3 separate regions of the Homo sapiens genome follow, and regions 1 and 3 are each linked to region 2. Evidence: promoter capture Hi-C in 16 types of primary human blood cells and fetal thymus (Javierre and others, 2016). All regions are on one chromosome and are shown on one strand. The core of a region is centred on a gene start or on the middle of the fragment in contact, and the rest is flanking DNA. Distances in the headings are between cores, read along the strand shown.

What was found. The method cuts DNA at HindIII sites, captures the fragments that hold promoters and counts their contacts. A CHiCAGO score of 5 or more calls a contact.
Region 1: a contact is called between a fragment that was not itself captured here and the fragment with the promoter of SRSF4 in region 2, in 1 of 17 cell types (total B cells). The highest score is 6.5, in total B cells.
Region 3: a fragment that was not itself captured here is called in contact with the fragment with the promoter of SRSF4 in region 2 in 1 of 17 cell types (megakaryocytes); the score reaches 5.5 in megakaryocytes.

What each region holds. Positions count from the first base shown.
Region 1 is chr1:31,059,684-31,063,604 of GRCh38, reverse strand. All of the region lies in intron 1 of PUM1 (pumilio RNA binding family member 1), which reads left to right. Among named protein-coding and RNA genes, the nearest start is that of PUM1, 4.1 kb to the left of the region's middle. The HindIII fragment of the contact is 189 bases long and covers 1,467-1,655 here.
Region 2 is chr1:29,179,336-29,183,203 of GRCh38, reverse strand. SRSF4 (serine and arginine rich splicing factor 4) reads left to right here and starts at 1,304. Exons shown (of 6, transcript NM_005626.5): 1 at 1,304-1,558. The coding sequence starts at 1,452. It also overlaps a transcript of MECR not described here. RefSeq lists enhancers at 1-613, 956-1,185, 614-1,251 and silencers at 1,256-1,465, 1,516-1,705. The HindIII fragment of the contact is 7,304 bases long and covers 1-3,868 here.
Region 3 is chr1:30,757,465-30,761,183 of GRCh38, reverse strand. LAPTM5 (lysosomal protein transmembrane 5) reads left to right here and starts at 3,410. Exons shown (of 8, transcript NM_006762.3): 1 at 3,410-3,525. The coding sequence starts at 3,439. RefSeq lists enhancers at 2,261-2,330, 3,399-3,678. The HindIII fragment of the contact is 232 bases long and covers 2,059-2,290 here.

The DNA of each region.
Region 1 (3,921 bases), core at 312-2,811, 1.9 Mb before region 2:
TGTGAGGTACAAGTGTAATTTGTACATGCGTGTATTGCGTAGTGGTGAAGCCAGGGCTTTTTGTGTGTCCATCACTGGAATAACGTACATTGTCCTCCTTAGGTAATCTCTCATTATCCTTCTCTCAGCCTCCTAGATAACTATTTTGAGAAGGCTTTTATTTCAGAAAAGATTGCATTTGCTGTTTTAGGAATTCTGTTAGGGACTGGAGTTGCCTTAACTAGGGGTAACTAAATTCTAAGAGTCTTAAGCACGATGACTTTAAATTTACCAAAAACTTTTATATTTATCTCATTTTCATTAAGAAAAACCCAAAACATTGAGAGTCATAGAGGAAGGATTTCTTTCATTTTCTAGATGAGGAAACAGGTAGTTTTGTTTAGTGAAAGAACTTGGGTTTTGGAACTCTTGGCCTGCTCTAGAACAAAGATTGTTAGGTCGAGATTTCCTTTTAGAACAGAATGGGACTGTCTAGTATTAGTACTAAGAGAGTAATGAATTCTTTAAAAAACCAAGCAGGGAGGCATTAGGCTGGTTTGCACTTTTGAAAGACCGATGGTGAAACCGGGCTATGACTTTTTGGTTTTGGTACTTGAGCAGGGACTAGTGTCTAGGTTAGACTACTCCAGTACCCTGCTAAGGTTCTGATGGATTGGAATTCTTAACCTAGACTAGGCATTTCCAAATTAGGCTTTAAACAAATTACAAATTCCATTGTGTCTTCTTAGGCTGGCTTCAAAAACATGAATTTAGTTGTGAGAAGCAAATGCTACTTTATCAGAAGGTTTATTTATTCAACAGAGAGATAGTAGATTTGTTATTCATGTGTTTTTGAAGCATCACAGTGGGGGTTGGGAGAAGAGATAAAGCATTTGTAGCAGTAGACTGTTAGGCCGATGGCTTTGAAATTAGACCGTGGCTGTGGACAGGTGTGTCCTAATTGGTAACTGATTTATTTACTTTGTAGCTTTTTTTTTTTTTTTTTGAGATGGAGTCTCACTCTGTCGTCCAGGCTGGAGTGCAGTGCCTTGATCTCGGCTCACTGCAACCTCCGCCTCCTGGGTTCAAGCGATTCTTCTGCCTCAGTCTCCCGAGTAGCTGGGACTACAGGTGCGTGCCACCACACCTGGCTACTTTTTATATTTTTAGTAGAGACGGGGTTTCAGTATATTGGCCAGGCTGGTCTGGAATTCTGACCTGGAGATGCGCCTGCCTCCGCCTCCCAAAGTGCTGGGATTACAGGCGTAAGCCACCGTGTCCGGACACTTTGTAGCATTTTTTAAAAGCACCCACAGGCTGGCAAGTGTTCTATCTTAAGTACAGATGCAGTTTTTGGTTTTAAGGAACTTTAGTGTTTCATAGTAACATTTGAGGGATTCTTTGTTGGTCTTCCAGAGGAGTAGAGGATACAAATGAGACATATTGTTGAGTTACTCCTGCAAGGGGTTAGTAGAAAGAAGTAAGCTTGGGAACGATTAGGGTTTGAATCCTTTCTCTGCTACTTGCTAGTTGAATGGCCTTGGAAACATCCCATTTTCCTCCTGTACCTTAGTGTTTTCATTTGTAAAATAGAAATAATAATGGCTACCTTTCAATGCTTTTGTGATGAGACAATGTCTGCGATATATTCATTACACTATTACCGTGTTGAAGCTTCTGTTTGTTTGTTTGTTTTTGAGACAGGAACTCACTCTGTCGCCCAAGCGGGTGTGCAGCCTCCCGCTCCTGGGCTCAAATGATCCTCCCACCTCAGCCTCCCTAGTAGCTGGGACTATAGGCACATGCCACCATGCCTGGCTAATTATTTTTAGTAGAGATAGGTCTTGCTATGTTGCCCAGGCTGGTCTTGAACTCCTGGGCTCAAGCTGTCTGCCCACCTCAGCCTCCCAAAGTGCTGGGATTGTAGGTATGAGCCACCACACCCAACTGAGGCTTCTGGTTTGTATAGTGAGGCTTTCTTTTTTTTTTATAATTTAAAAAAATTATTTTATTTATTTATTTATTTTGAGACAGAGTCTCGCTCTGTCGCCCGGCTGGAGCACAGTGGTGCGACCTCTGCCTCCCTGGTTCAAGTGATTCTCCTGCCTCAGCCTCCCAAGTAGCTGGGATTACAGGCGCGTGCCACCAAGCCTGGCTAATTTCTGTGTTTTCAGTAGAGTCGGGGTTTCACCATGTTAGCCAGGATGGTCTTGATCTCCTGACCTCATGATCCACCCGCCTCGGCCTCCCAAAGTGCTGGGATTACAGGCATGAGCCACCGTGCCCAACCTCCATTGGCCTTCTTAGAGCCTTATTTTTTAATAAAATAATAGAGATGGGGGTCTCACTGTGTTGCCTAGGCTGGTCTTCAGCTCCTGGCTCAAGCGATTCTCCCTGCCTAAGTCTCCGAAGGTGCTGGGATGACAGGAGTGAGCCACTGTGCCCAGCCTGTAGTGAGGCTTTCTACACTAATATGAAGTGTTTAAATTTGGTTTGGTCTCATCCTGTTTATAGTAGTTGAAGTACTAATGGCATAATGTGATTACAGTTAATAGTTGTAAGTTACTGGTAAAAATATTAATGCTTTTAAAAATCAGTGACAACTGAGGAGAGGGCTTAGGCTAAAAGCATTCTGCTGCTGTTCTTGGTCAGAGGGTTTTATTGTTTCTTTAAGAAATATCCTATCAATATATTGGAGGTTTTATTTATTTATTTATTTATTATTTTTTTTTTTTTTACTGAAACAGAGTCTCGATTTGTCGCCCAGGCTGGAGTGCAGTGGTGCGATCTTGGCTCACTGCAACCTCTGCCTCCCGGGTTCAAACGATTCTCCTGCCTCAGCTTCCCAAGTAGTTGGGATTAAAAGTGTGTACCACCACACCCAGTTAATTTTTGTATTTCCAGTAGAGATGGGGTTTCATAATGTTGGCCAGGCTGGTCTCGAACTCCTGACCTCAAGTGATACACCTGCCTTGGCCTCCGAAGTGTTGGGATTATAGGCGTGAGCCACCTCGCCTGGCCAATATGTTGGACACTTTAAGGGATCCTTTCAAATTACACAATCTGAGCCATTGCTACTTATATATGGGTTTAGGCTTTTGTTTAGTTATTAGCATATGTCTGCTCCAGCTGTAAAGTTGTGATTGATTGATTGATTGATTTTTTGAGAGAGAGTCTCGCTCTGTCACCCAGGTTGGAGTACAGTGGCATGATCTCGGCTCACTGCAACCTTTGCCTTCTGGATTCAAGCCATTCTCCTGCCTCAGCCTCCCGAGTAGCTGGGATTACAGGTGCCCAGCACCATACCTGGCTAATTTTTATATTTTTAGTAGAGATGGGGTTTCACCATGTTGGCCAGGCTGGTCTTGAACTCCTGACGTCAGGTGATCCACCCACTTTGGCCTCCCAAAGTGCTGGGATTACAGGCATGAGCCACCACACCCGGCCGAAGTTGTGATAGTTTTAAAAAGGCTTTTGGGGCTGGGCGCGGTGGCTCACGCCTGTAATCCCAGCACTTCCGGAGGCCGAGGTGGGTAGATCACCTGAGGTCGGGAGTTCGAGACCAGCCTGGCCAACATGGTGAAACCCCGTCTTTACTAAAAATACAAAAAATTAGCCACCCGTGGTGGTGGGCGCCTGTAGTACCAGCTACTCAGGAGGCTGAGGCAGGAGAGTCGCTTGAGTCTAGGAGGCGGAGGCTGTAGTGAGCCGAGATCGCGTCATTGCACCCTAGCCTGGGCAACAGGGGCAAAACTCTTGTCTCAAAAAAAAAAAAGCTTTTGTTCATTTAAAAACTGTCAGTTGGTTTGAGGTATAAGTAAGTTGGGTAGACTGATAGAAGTCTAATTCTGTATTGCTATGTGTTGGTTAACAACATAAACTTCTCTGAAGTGGTAGTATTGAGTTCTGATCCCAATACCTTGCCAGAGTGCATGCCACCAA
Region 2 (3,868 bases), core at 55-2,554:
GTATCCTACTATTTGTTTTATAAGGGTAAATTAACCTCCTAAAGGACATTTCAGAAACTGCCTCTGGGAAGAGAAACTAAGTGGCTGGTGGACAGCGAAGACTTTTCACTGTGTATCATTTGAACCTTGAGTTATCCTTTCAAAATATTCAAAAAACAAAAACAAGCAAAGAAACAAAACCCTTTATGGTTCTAGGTACATGGCGTTAGTGAGAAGGGAACCAATATTTATTGAGCTCTTACCATGTTTCAGACACTGTTCCAAGTACTTTCACATACACTACCCCATTTAGTGACCTGTGTAATCCTTGAGATGGGTATACATTATTCTAATTTTACAGGTTAGAAAATAGACTGGATAGGCCAGGCGCAGTGGCTCACGCCTGTAATCCCAGCACTTTGGGAGGCCAAGGCGGGCGGATCACCTGAGGTCTGGAGTTTGAGACCTGCCTGGCCAATATGGTGAAACTTCCTCTCTCCTAAAAATACAAAAATTAGCCGGGCGTGGGGGCGGGCGCCTGTAGTCCCAGCTACTCTGGAGGCTGAGGCAGGAGAATCGCTTGAACCCGGGAGGCGGAGGTTGCAGTGAGCTGAGGTCGCGCCACTGCACTCCAGCCTGGGCGACCGAGCGAAACTCGTCTCAAAAAAAAAAAAATAGGTTGGATTGTGGTCAAGTAATTTACTCGGCGTCATGCCTAGTCTAGCTCCAAAGCTCCAGCCTTCTCCGCTTCTCACACTGCTTCTATTTAAGCAGTGTCCTCTTAAAAATAATACTGGTCTCATTTATTGGGCACTTGATATGACAAAACTACTAAGTGCTTTATGTACGTATTCTCATATAATTCTCAAGACAACTCTGGAAGGTAGGAACTACTCTCCCCCTTTTACAGAAAAGATAAAGGAGGGTCCGAGACATCGCGCGTAACAAGCCCAAGGTCACGGGTACACAATCGTTTGGAAGCTAGGTTTGATTCCAAAGCTCCAGCTCCGAAATCCAAACCACACCCGGTTCAAAGGACAAAAGCACAAACGCTCGCTCGCTGGGCTCTAGGAGGTGCGGACACTTCCGGGGGAGGGGCGAAGCCAGCTGGCTGCGGAAGGCGGTGCAGGAACCCCTTTGGCGAGCTCGCGCGAGGACGTGCCGCAGCGCCGCCTGTCGATCACCTTGCCCCGCCGCACGTCGGCGCGCCCCCGGGCAAGCTCCTCCCCCAGTCCTGGCCGAGCGGGAAGCGAACGCGCGCTCTCTCCGGTTACCTTCCGCCTCGGGGAAGGGCGGGGGAAGTGGAAGCGCGCGCTCGCGAGCTGCGTGCTCGCGTACGTCGCCGGGGTTCGGCTGCGTCCGTCCCGCCGCCCGCCCGTTGCCGCCGCCGCCGCTGCCGCCGTGCTCTCGCTTTGCCCGCCGCCGCCTAAGGGGGGCTGGGGCCGGGGCCAGCCATCACTGCCGTTGCCGGGATGCCGCGGGTGTACATCGGCCGCCTGAGCTACCAGGCCCGGGAGCGCGATGTGGAGCGCTTCTTTAAGGGCTACGGGAAGATCCTGGAGGTGGATCTGAAGAACGGGTGAGGAGGGCGAAAGAGGGTCCGGCCGGGCGGGGACAGACCCCATAGGTGGTGGGGAGGCCGCGGGGACGGGAGAGGGACGCCTGGTCCGCGCGGAGCGGCTACCGGCCTGGCCAGGCTCCGCCATAGTGGCGGCGCCTCGGGGGCGCGGGTAGGCCCCGGTTCCCACTGCGCCTGCGCGGGTGGGGGTGGTGGAGGCATAATGGGAGCTGTGCTGAGGCCCTGAGTGGGACGGGGAGAAGGAAAGCCCGAGTGGGGCTGGTGCTCCGGGCAGGGGGGCACAGCTCCAGGGCGCCCGGGAGACCTGGGTTTTCCCTTCCTAGGCCCGGAACTGGGGCCCTATTCGTTTCTGGGTAGACACCAACCTTTCCCGCTCTGAGGACTACTGGAAATAAACAGGATTTCCTGCTCCCTTTCACCTCTTGCCCGGTCTCATGGATCAGACGGTCACAGCGCCGTCTTCCCCGAGGACTGGAGCCTTGGAGGGAGGCCCTTTTTAGCCGTGTGCCACGCTTTTTTGGGCGGGAGACTCCAGTTTGAGTAGTCTAGTGACAGTTTCGAAAGTATCGTCTTGCCGTGCTGAAAGCCTTCACCGTTCCCTCTGCAAGAGTAAATTAAAGTCTTAACTTCTTATCTTTAAGACTCCGTGCAGAGTTTCCACGCTGTGGTTTCCGTTTTCCAACTTACCGAAAAATTGCTTGGCCGTTGTAGAATTTGTTAGGAGAATAGTGGCCACCCTGGCTAGTATCTGCGTCTGGTTAACGCAGACGGAGACGAAATTGTTAACTTACTGCCTCCCCCAGAGTATGATCTATTACTTGTATTCTTAATCTACTTCGGCAAAAATAGTGCCAGCATGAGCTACAGGTTTTAGGGAAAACTGTTGAGGAATCAGGCCTGGAGAAAATACTCAACGGGGAAAACTGGGAACCAGATGTTAGGTAGGGCTTGGAAGGCATGGATATAAAATTAAAAGGACTGGGGTGACATTTTAGGGCACTAAACCTTGGGTGTTAGAGAACTCTTGGCTTAAAAAAGAAACTCTACTTTGCAACAGTTGTAATATAGCTACCGTTTACTCCCCAGGGTTATACTAGTAACTGACACCTGAAACATTTTGAAAGTTACCTAAGTATGTTTCACGTATGAGAAAACTGGTAGCTACCGTATTCTCAAATGATGATTTGGGTTTAAAAAGCCATTTCAAATTAATTATTAGAATCGTTTTCTTTCTGAGGACGTCTTTAGTAAAGTACTGATTTCTTTTACAGTAAAAGGCTTTAAAAACTACTCCTTTTCTACAGTAAAACGTTCAGTTCTTAAGGATATATTGAAGTGGCGGGTAGACGTTATTGTATACATACCATATATGTGAAAGTTGAAACTCCAGTTTTTTTCAGAGCCCAGCTAAATTGACAGCATAACTAACTTTTGTGGACAAAGTGTGGATTTTGAAGCCAGCCAGGCCTAAGTCAAATCCTGGTTCCACCACTTACTACGTATGGGCAAGTTACTTCTCTGAACCTGGTTGTTCATTCATGTGGAAAAGGAAGATTAGAGATAATAAATGTAAAGCATTTGGCTTAGGCAGTAAGTGGCAGCTATAATCAGAGGGATGAGGAAACATCTTTGCTTGTTGGTGTTTGATAACATAAAGCGTGTTTGGTGAGGTCTTTTCTAATGTTACTCAGGTGATAGTGTGCAGGAAATGACAAGACTGTTAATGGGAAACTGATTCATCAACCAAATGTATTGATAACCCATCAACAAAATGTCCACCACTGTGCTAAATGAATTGGGGGAGGAGGCAGAAAACAGTTCTGCTCTTGAATAAATTAAGCATTATGACATGTGCACTTTGAATTAAGAAATGTTTGCTTTCGCTTTAAACTCTAGTAAAACTTGGAATGATTTGCTTGAAAAGATGTGTTGAAATGGCTTTGAAGAATAGATTAGAGCTTGAAGTGAAGAAATTTAGGTTTCTGGGAATAGTATATGTCGTAGTTGGGGCTCAGGCATGGTGACTTGTGCCTGCAATCCCAGCTGAAGTGTGAAGATTACTTCAGGCCAGGAGTTTGAGACCAGCCTGACCCCATCTCTAAGAAAAAAATTTTTTTAATTAGCCACGCGTGGTGACACTCGCCTATAGTCCTAGCTACTTCAGAGGATGAGGCAGGAGGATCACTTCAGCCTAGGATTTCAAGGCTACAGTGAGCTATGATTGTGACACTGCACTCCAGTCTGGGTAACAGCAAGACCCCCATCTCTAATAAAATAAGTACAATGCTGACTTTTTTTGCTTTTTGATGA
Region 3 (3,719 bases), core at 925-3,424, 1.6 Mb before region 2:
GGCTGCGGTGGCATGGAACATTTCCTTGTCCTTATCTTGATGAATTCAGAGGGTCTGAAGTTTTCAAGGGTTCTACCACTCCACAAAGAAGGTATGAAAAGCAACTTGAAGAAGCTCAAAACTTATCATTCGTAACGGAAAACAGCAGAATATAAATAGTGAGCTTATGTGGTGTTGCCACCTGCATGTACAGACAACGAGATGGGCATTATCATTATCCCCGCTTGGCGCAGGAGGAAGCGGAGGCTCAGGGAAGTTCACGACTTGGCTGGGGTCACACAGCAAGGAAGTAAGGGCTGCACTTGTGCAGATGGGGACTGTGGTCTCGGTGGAGTGTGTTGGGCTCCAGCGACGGGGCCCCAGGCTCAGCTGTTGCTTCCACTGAGCAGCTGTATTTGTTCCCTGCGGCCGCTATAATAAAAGACCAGAAACACAGTGACTACAACAGACATTTATTGTCTTACAGTTCTGGAGGCCAGAAGTCAGGAATGCGCCTCGCTGAGCTAAAATGAAAGTGATTCCCTTTCGAGCCTCTAGAGGAGAAGCCATTTCCTTGCCTTTTCCAGTTTCTGGATGCCGCCTGCACTCCTTGGCTCATGGTTCTTCCTCCAACTGCAGAGCCAGGAGTGTGGCATCTTCCACTCCCTCTCTGACTCTGATCTTCCTTCACTTATGGGGACCCATTTGATGACCTCAGGGCCATCCAGATAATGCAGGATAATCTCCCCACCCACCTCAAGATCCTGAATTTCATGGCGCCTGTGAAGTTTCTTTGCCATGTAAGGCCATGTACGCACAGGTTCCAGAGATTAGGGTGGATTTTTTTTGGGGGGTGAGAGGCACTATTCTGCCTATCACAGTGGCTTTGGCCAAAGGGTCTGACCTTTGGGATAATAGCCGTCCTCTCCACAGGGGGTTTGTTGGGAATGACAATAAAGTGATTCAGGCTTGTACTCCACAGGGAGTGACTGAGGTGCCTGCCAAGGGGCCAGTGTGTGCTGGAGCCTGGTGACCCGGTGAGAGACAAATGACTGCATCAGAACTCCTGCTTCTGCGAGGGAGGTAGTGCCCGAGGGGACTCAGAATCAGACAGATCAGGGGTTCAATCCCAGCTCTGCCTCCTCCTAGCAGCCTGAGTACGGGTGAGATCGGGGAGCAGGGACGGGCTGGAAGGGAGAAAACAAACAGATGCATTCACGTGACCTCATTTCACCTTCACCGCAGCCCTGCCAGGCAAATTTCTGTTCCCCCCAACCGCCCCGCCGTTTTGCAGAGGTGAAAACAACAGCTCAGAGAGATCAAGTGCCTTGTCTGACACCACACAGCTACTAAGTGGGGAGCTGGGATTCCCCATGCCCCAGGATTCCCAAACGGATGCCACCTACTCCACCTCCAGGGCTGTCTGCCACATCTGCGTCCTCCTAGGCTGTGGCTTCCTTAATATGTTCTTTAAATTGACTTACTGCCTTTTTTATTTAAATGCATTTCTTTTAAAATGAGACTTTATATTACTCCTATAAATGGAAAATCACAGGATTCATGGACTAGTTATGTATATTTTTATAATGCACATTAAAATGAATTTATCACCATAAAAAATGAGAAATGTTTACCCATAGACCATGTACAATTATTCCACATGCTGTCAGTGTGTTTCATCCCTCTCTTTGGGAGTTGGCTTTGCACCTGTCCTGGTTTCACCAAATCACAATGTTATGAATGGCTATCATTTATTATGGTAGGAAATCGTCAAATGGCTTCTGTGCACAATCAAATGCAGACTCCCCAGCATGGCCTCAGGGCCCTCCTGGCCCCTGGTTTCCTGATCTCCAGTTCCTCTGGTCTTGCTACTCTTAGACAAAGGAGGACTTCTCTTGGTTTTCTGCCTACCCAGCCAGAAGATCCCAGGCCATGGGCCTGTGGAGCCAAAGTTCTTAACCACTGCACTGTGTCACCTTTCTATGATGTCAGGCCTCAGCAAGGCTTATGAAGGAACAGGAACAGCCTTGAAAATGAAGTTGGGAAGGGATAGGCCAGGCCTCCCAGGAGCCCAAAGCTTGCAGAGTCCCCTTGGTCTCATTGGCACATGGAGAATGGATTGATCAAGTCCACCAATCAAGTTTTGTGGGTCTAACAGAGCAACTCCTGCCAAGTGGGAGGAGCTTAGGGACTTTCTATAACCTCTCCTGGGGCAGAAATGATGGGCTGCAGCAGTGTCCAATCCTAACTCCATGATCTCCTGGGAGGGCAGGGCTTCATGGCAGTTCCTGTCTGCTCTGCACTAGAAGCTTGGCATTGCAAAGGGGCTCAGCTGTGGAATGAAGCAGGGCTTCTTCCAGAAATGTTGCATGTACTTCCTATTCCCTTTCTTTATTGCAATATGGATAATTTATCATCTGAGGAGGGAGTAGAGATTCCAGGGTAGCTTGCCTAAGAGTTGTGGCTTATTAATTCCAACTTTTTGCAAGATCAAGGGGGAAAAGCAATCCCTGATTTTGTGTGAGTATGGGGATTGGGTCTTGAGGCCCTGAAAGTGAGGTTCGGGTCTCACAGATTGCTGTGAAGAGTTATTGACCCACCTAGAAGAGAAGCCTAGCCCAGGGCCTGGCGCACAGTTGATGGGTTTGCTTCCTGGTTATTCTTCCGTCCTTGTCTGGAGCCCTGCACGCCTCTTCGTAGCTTAGGAAGAACAAGCTTCTCCCTGCGGCTCAGGGTGAGGAAGTGGGAGAGAACACCAGCTCCAGGGAGGCTTCTAGCACCAGTCAGCCTCAGTTAAAATCCTTGCACCTTCATTGACTAGCTGTGTGACCTTGCACGAATCATTCCCCCTCTCTGTGCCTCAGTTTCTTCATCTGTAAAATGGGGATCATAATAGTACCTCTCTCAAAGGATTGAGGTGAGGATGAAAGGAGTGAATCCAGGAGCATGCCTGGAAGAGGCAGGAAATGCCTCCTAGACAATAGCTATTTTTGCAGCCAGACAGATCTGGGTTTGAATTCTGCCACCAGTGCTAACTACTGTGTGATTTGGGGCAAGTGCCTTGACCTCTCTGGACAGCTGTTTCCTCATCTGGAAATGGGCTTGGTAACAGTCCTGGCTTCCAAAGTTGGTAGTGTTCTTCTAGTAAGCAAGCTGTGTGAAACGGTGGAACCCTGGCCCTGGTGCAGAGAAGGGCATGATGACCGTGTTAGGGTCTGTCCTCTCTGGAACCCCCTCCTGGGAATGGCAGAGGGCAGTGGGGTGCTCTGAGGCAGGCTGCTGCCCTGTCCCCACTCCCCCTCCCCAGCTGCCCCGCCCCAGCTGTGACGACCTTGTCCCTGCCTGTCTAAGGGGCAGGAAGGAAGTGAGGAGGGCAGCCAGCAGCTTCCCCTTCTCTGCCCTGCTCCAGGCACCAGGCTCTTTCCCCTTCAGTGTCTCAGAGGAGGGGACGGCAGCACCATGGACCCCCGCTTGTCCACTGTCCGCCAGACCTGCTGCTGCTTCAATGTCCGCATCGCAACCACCGCCCTGGCCATCTACCATGTGGTGAGTGTGCGGGCCCCGGGTGTGTGTGCGTGCGTGCTTGTGTGAGTGTGAATGTCTGCGGTGACCCGTCATCTACGGAGCCCCACAAATGAAAGAACTCCTGCTCTCCACCTCTCTGGGGGACCCTGGGCAAATCCCTGTCCTGCTCTGGGCCTCAGTTTCCTTCTCTGTCAAATGGCTGGGGGTACCCTGGG